Linked DNA regions of Homo sapiens: region 2 is linked to region 1. Evidence: promoter capture Hi-C in human tissues and cell types (Jung and others, 2019). All regions are on one chromosome and are shown on one strand. Each heading gives the region's core, a stretch centred on a gene start or on the middle of the fragment in contact. The rest is flanking DNA. Distances are from core to core; before and after follow the strand shown. Region 1 holds the start of RSPH4A (radial spoke head component 4A). Region 2 overlaps RWDD1 (RWD domain containing 1).

What was found. Contacts are between HindIII fragments. The study calls those that stand out against the background at their distance.
Region 2: a contact is called between a fragment that was not itself captured here and the fragment with the promoter of RSPH4A in region 1, in 1 of the 25 tissues and cell types used here (hippocampus).

The regions. Positions count from the first base shown.
Region 1 is chr6:116,614,708-116,617,837 of GRCh38, reverse strand. It overlaps RSPH4A (radial spoke head component 4A), which reads right to left and starts at 1,359. Exons shown (of 6, transcript NM_001010892.3): 1 at 529-1,359. The coding sequence starts at 1,214. RefSeq lists enhancers at 1,040-1,159, 1,210-1,309. The HindIII fragment of the contact is 9,568 bases long and covers 1-3,130 here.
Region 2 is chr6:116,579,041-116,582,020 of GRCh38, reverse strand. RWDD1 (RWD domain containing 1) reads right to left here. Exons shown (of 7, transcript NM_015952.4): 2 at 1,661-1,726. Among named protein-coding and RNA genes, the nearest start is that of RWDD1, 9.0 kb to the right of the region's middle. The HindIII fragment of the contact is 4,443 bases long and covers 1-2,980 here.

The sequences.
Region 1 (3,130 bases), core at 110-2,609:
GTGACCAATTCTCCGAGTTTGCGAGGACTAAGGGGTTTCTTAGGATAAAGAACTTTCAGCGCTCAGCCAAACTGAGATGGTGGTCACCCTAGCACTGCCTGGGTTGGGAACTCAAAAGCCATGCAAGCAATAGCATCTACAGATGAGAGACGTGATTGCTTTCACTGGTAGACAATTATTTTTCACAAGCATCCTGGAGAGATGCTTGGACTTTATGGTCTTTATGGTCTTTTTCAAGCCCGAGATTCCATAATTCCTAAGTTTTATTTTGTTGTGTGCCTAGGGTCTTTAAAGAAGCTGGAGGAAAAGGACAAAAAAAAAAAAAGGTTAAGAAAAAGAAGGTACAAGAATCTCCATTAATGACCTGTTTTGAGTCATGTGATCCAGAGTTATGTCATTAACTCTCTTTTACTAACACAATCTTTCAAATATATTTTGATTCACCCACAGAAACACACTCTCACACAGAGATACTCACACACCCTCTTGCTTTGCCAAACATTTATCTTTTTTCCCTCTGAGACTTACAGATTAAAGCCCGAATTGCTGCTAGTCTTCAGCAGGTAAGCCTTAGCATTCTGAATGGTGATCTCAAGCATGCTGGGGGCCACTTCAGAGCCCCCAGGCGCCGGCTGCTGTAAATCATAGTCACTGTTTGAGTCTTCCTCCTGAAAAACGTCAAATCTCAGCTCTTTCTGTTTAGCGTTGTTATAGCTCACGTCCCTTCGTCCACACAGGTGGGGTTTGGGTTGCTGAGACTGTTGAAAGGTGTTTCCTTCTGACTGGCTTGTGTGATGAGGAGTTGATTCTCTTTTATCAGATGATTGTTCCAAAGGATCAGGATAAGGTGTCCCAGCTTCAGGAATCACACTCGTGGTCCTGTCCGACTGAGGTGGTGCCGCGAGGTCTTGTCTGGCCGGAGCCAGGGGAGAAGGAGAGGAAGAGGGCTCCCGCGGAGAGACAGGAGCAGGTGATGATGTTTCTGGTCCCGCGGGGCCACCCAGAGGCGTCTTGGCTCTAGACTGCGGGCTCCAAGGACGGCTGCTTCGGGACTGGCGTCCAGTTTCTGGCCCCTGCTTCGCCTCCAAGGGCTCAGACGACTCAGGCTCAGAATATTGGGGAGAAGCTGCTGTCTTTCCTTCCCATGGCCGCCTTGTTTCCCCTAGTTCTTCTTGGTTTTCTTTTTCTTGCTTCGGGGAGGTTGAGTCCTCCATGGAAGCAGTTCAAGAAAAAAAATGTTCTGGATGAAAGGGGCGTGAAAATATGGAAGAAGGCAACTCAGTTAAGTTACTTTGCCGCGGTCTCTTAAGCGATTTCTGGGTCCTGGTTGCTCTGTGAGTTGCTGCGTCCTATCTCCATAGCAACCCCAGGCCGGGTTCCTCTCAGAAAAACTCACCGCGCCTGTTGCCAGGATTCGAGGGCGGAGACTAAGAGAGAACGAGAGAGAGAGATGAAAATCCTAGCTTTGTGATTCGGTACAACCCCTGCCCCTCGTTCTATCGCAGCCAATCCGACCTAGACTCGACCAGTCTTGCTTGGAAACCGAGAACTCCAGATCCTGCGCCTTGAGCACAAAGTAGGAAGAATGGCGACCCCATGCGAGAGACCTTTAGGGGTCTGAGACTGATCCAAGTTGTGCTGTGAGGAGCGAGTCGTGCGTTAGTGGAGGGACAGTGTATTCATGAAGCGTGTGTGTGGAGGGTGTGTGTGTGTGAGAGAGAGAGAGAAGGAAGGAAGGAAAGAACGGAGGAAGGAAGGGAGGGAGGGAGAGAGGAGAGTGAGGGGTAGAGAGGGAGGAAGAGACTGACCTTGGTAATCTCGGAGGTGCAGGTAACAATGGGACCCCAGTGTGCTGACCAGGAGACCCCAAGCCTCACATTTAGCGTGCATCAGCTACAACCAACCAACTCTAAAGACTCGGAGAATAGACAAAGCAGTCCTGAGTTTTGTTCTTCCTGCTTATAAGGAATCTCCTGGTGATTAGGCAGAATATTATACTTGAGAAGGCAATGCAGAAAACCTATAAATAGGCAATTCATGGGTTACCCGTTTTCTAATAATTGAAATTCAAATTAACACTAAACTATATTGGCATAATATAATTTTTATTTGATAATGTAAATGTAAATGCATAATTTTGCAATGATTTAAGTTCAAGATTATGACTATTCATTTATAGTATACAGTCTCCAATATGAAGAAGGTATAGAAGATTGGACCATATCTGGACTTAACTATAAACCATATATTAATTAAAGTCTTTAATGTTAATTGTTTTGTATTTCTTTCTCTTTCTAAATATACCAACAAATACTTGGCATTTGACAGTTTACATTGATATAGCTTCTATTTAGCAAGATGTTGCTCTAAATTCTAACTTCATGGAAGAACATAATACTCCTCCATTCAGTGTGGTGAGGGAATCACAGACTAAAATAATTTGATAAAAACTGTGTGCACACACACAAAATGTTGAATATAACTTCTGCTGGTACAGAGACTCTTTAAAGTCAAATGTCTGGGATTTAGAATGCTTGGATTTCTAAAAACAGAACATTAAGATAAACTAGAACAATAAATTCTGGGGTTTTTTGGTAATTGGTGCAAGAGTTGAGGAAGTTAGCATTTTTTCCCCCTTAATTTCTCCCTTGCAGCTGGCAAGCTGTAATGGAGGCTTTTTTTTTCTTTGAAAGACAAGCCAGAGGGCCAGGTGTGGTAGCTCACACCTGTAATCCAAGCAGTTTGTCTTTTTTTCACCAGGTAATCCCAGCACTTTTGTGTTTTTTCTTTGAAAGACAAGCCAGAGGGCCAGGCAAGATGGCTCATGCCTGTAATCCCAGCACTTTGAGAGGCCACGGCAGGTGGATCAGTTGAGGTCAGGAATTTGAGACCAGCCTGGCCAACATGGTGAAACTGCATCTCTACAAAAATACAAAAATTAGCTGGGCATTATGGCGAGTGCCTGTAATCCCAGCTACTCCGGAGGCTGAGGCAGGAGAATTGCTTGAACCCAGGAGGCGGAGGTTGCAGTGAGCCAAGATCGTGCCACTGCACTCCAGCCTGGACGACAGCCTGTTATCCAGGCTGGAGTCAGAAAAGCCTGTGTCAAAAAAAAAAAAAAAAGAAAGAA
Region 2 (2,980 bases), core at 49-2,548, 36 kb after region 1:
TTCATATATAAATATAAAATCTCAAAAATAACATGAGAATACTTCCAAGTCTTTATTCAATACAACCATACTTCCACTTTATAAGTATGTCACTGTTTATTAGTTAAGATAGAAACAATGACATTATAAACATCCTTGCATGTATTATTTTGTATTATGATACTGTGCTTAGAATAGATACCCATAAATACAGTAGTCATTGTATCAAAGAATATGAACATTTTCAAAGTCTCCTGCTTCATGATTCCAATAGTTCTCCTGAACATGTGTTTCGATTCATATTCCAAACAGCATAATGCTATCTTCCAATACTAATAATTTGCTGGATATATTATTTTAGCTTGCATTTTTAATTACCTGTGAGATCGTTCTTTTAATACTACCTTTAGAAATTGTATATCAATGCCCTTTGCCCACTTTTCTACTAGTTTGTTCACTAAAAAGGAGTTTTTGGGGAAAAAAAAGTACAATGCAGGATTTAGTTTCAAAGAAATAATTTTGAAAGTATGGTGGATAATGCACTGAGTACACCTATTTCATAGAGCTATTACTAGCTCCTAATAAAGCTATTATTCAGAATATGGGAGCTCTCACAAGAAATTTTTATATTTTATTTTTCATTTCAGCGTAATCTTAAAGAAAATTTTATTTGGATTATTTATCAATGAGCATCACCACACCATTTTGGAACCCATAATGGCATCATATGAAGCCCAAATCATGCCACTGGCTTATTTACAAAGGAAAATTTTAAATGGTTTGAAGAACAGTCAGTATAGTATTTATTTCATGCTTTAAAGCATTACAGAAAAATTTTTAGATACCAATCTGCAAAAGTATATTGGTTATCAATTTGGTAGTAAATAAATGTATTCAATATCCTTTTAAGTCAGATTTCAATAATGTGTGAATGCAAACCTCATTTTCAAGTATACTAGACAGATTTGGAGTTATCAAGTAATACCATAAAAGTTGGCTATTAATGACTGCTCCTGGCAGAATTTAGGTTTACTAGCTTCAAAGGGGGTAAAAAAATGTGTAGGGTTGTTAGTTCCAATTTACATAACCTTTTTATCAAATTACCATATCAACTAACGTGACTAAAAGTAGAAATAAACTTCAGATACCATTCCCCCAAACATCTCCAAATTTAATTTATTTAACTTTAATTTATTGGTTTTTATAGTTACGTTATTTCAAAAGAAAGAGACAGAAACATGCAGACAGACATATATCCAGCCCCATTTATAACACCAAATGTCCAGTGAACAATCTAAATGTTCAAAGAGAAAAACAGCCATGAAAAAATAATAGTCACTCAAAGGAACCACACAACCACTGAAATATGTTTGCACGTGAAGTATTGCTTTGAACAAAACAAAAGTTTCCTACCTTTTTTCATCTGCTGTATTATTAATATTACTATTTCACTTTTAAAAACTAAGCTTATTGTGCCAGACTATATTTCATTAATTTCCTCTCTATTTCCCTAGAAGTCATGTTCACACAGTAAATTCTGACTAGAAATATACAACATTCATAGCAGATTCGTAACAGCCCCTTAGCACCTCCACATGACAATATCCAGCATAATGCCTACAGAATGAGTGAAATTCCTGAGAAATTTAGAAAAACCACAAGTATTTTTTATAAGACTTACTTTCATCATTTTCTCCAGCCTCAGACGTCACAGTAATGGTGAAGCTGGGTGGATTTTCTGATAATACTGCAAGAAAATACACACAGAAGTTATTGAAATGCTTTCTAAGGCAGATGCTTTTCCTTATTAGCAAATTATCAGTACCCAGTCCTAGAAACTGGTCCCTAGGCTATATTTCCATTTCCACAAATACAGACTGAACAGAACACTGAAATGATAAAATTACCATCAACTTTCTATTTAAATGGAGGGTTGTCTTTAATCTGGAAAGAAATAACTATGGTAGATAACCCTCTTGGAGTTTTACCAAGTCAACTGAAAAAATGAGGTAGTTTACCGTTTATTTTAAAATCTCCACCTATACATGGAAAATTACATTCTTAAAAAATCCCAAAAATAATGGCAAAGAGTTTCATGTTTCTCACCTGAAACTACCCACTGATACTCATGTTTCACTGATTTTTATACTTATATATTGTGAGATATAACTCAGAATCTCCATGACAAACAGTAAATACCGATTTGTTAAAGTTTATGTCTTCTTGCTGTCATTCTCTACCACATCATCTCTAAAACCAAACTTTCTTTCACATATGCTTACTAAGCCTCTACCATCTTTCATAGAATTATAAAATGAATTAGCTATGAATGTAAACATCAGATTGCATGTAATTTACTAAGCAAGACAAGACACATAAATCAACATTTATATAAATAACAAAGCTTTGTATGTCATTTTATAGCCTATGTCTATCTAATACTCATCTCTGTTTATCATCTATTCCTCAACAAGAATGCTATAACAACTCTATGAGAGCTCCTAGATCAGTATCTGGCAGTATCTAGAAACTCAATTAATATTGCCCCAATAAAACAAGAACTAAATGAATAGAATGAAAGGAGGAAAAACAGTAACAAAGAAAACTTGTACTCAGAACCATTTGAAAAGTAAACAAGGAAACTTCAAGCTACCAGGGATGGCTGCTAAGCCTATGAGAAAAGCCTATGCCTCACTCCCTGTCCAGGAAGCACTGGTACTTGTCAAGGTTGGCAGCAGCTCTGCAGACTTTTTCAGAATGAAAGAGCAATGGATTACTGAAGAAGTAATCATGGGAACTATTCAACTTTTCCTACCTGGGAACTTTCTAAAGCCATCATAAATATATATTATCAACAGTATTTTCTGGCCGGGCACAGTGGCTCATGCCTGTAGTCCCAGCACTTTGGGAGGCCAAGGCGGGCGGATCACTTGAAGCCAGGAGTTCGAGACCAGCCTGGCCAACATGGTGAAACCTCATCACTACTAAAAACACAAAAAAT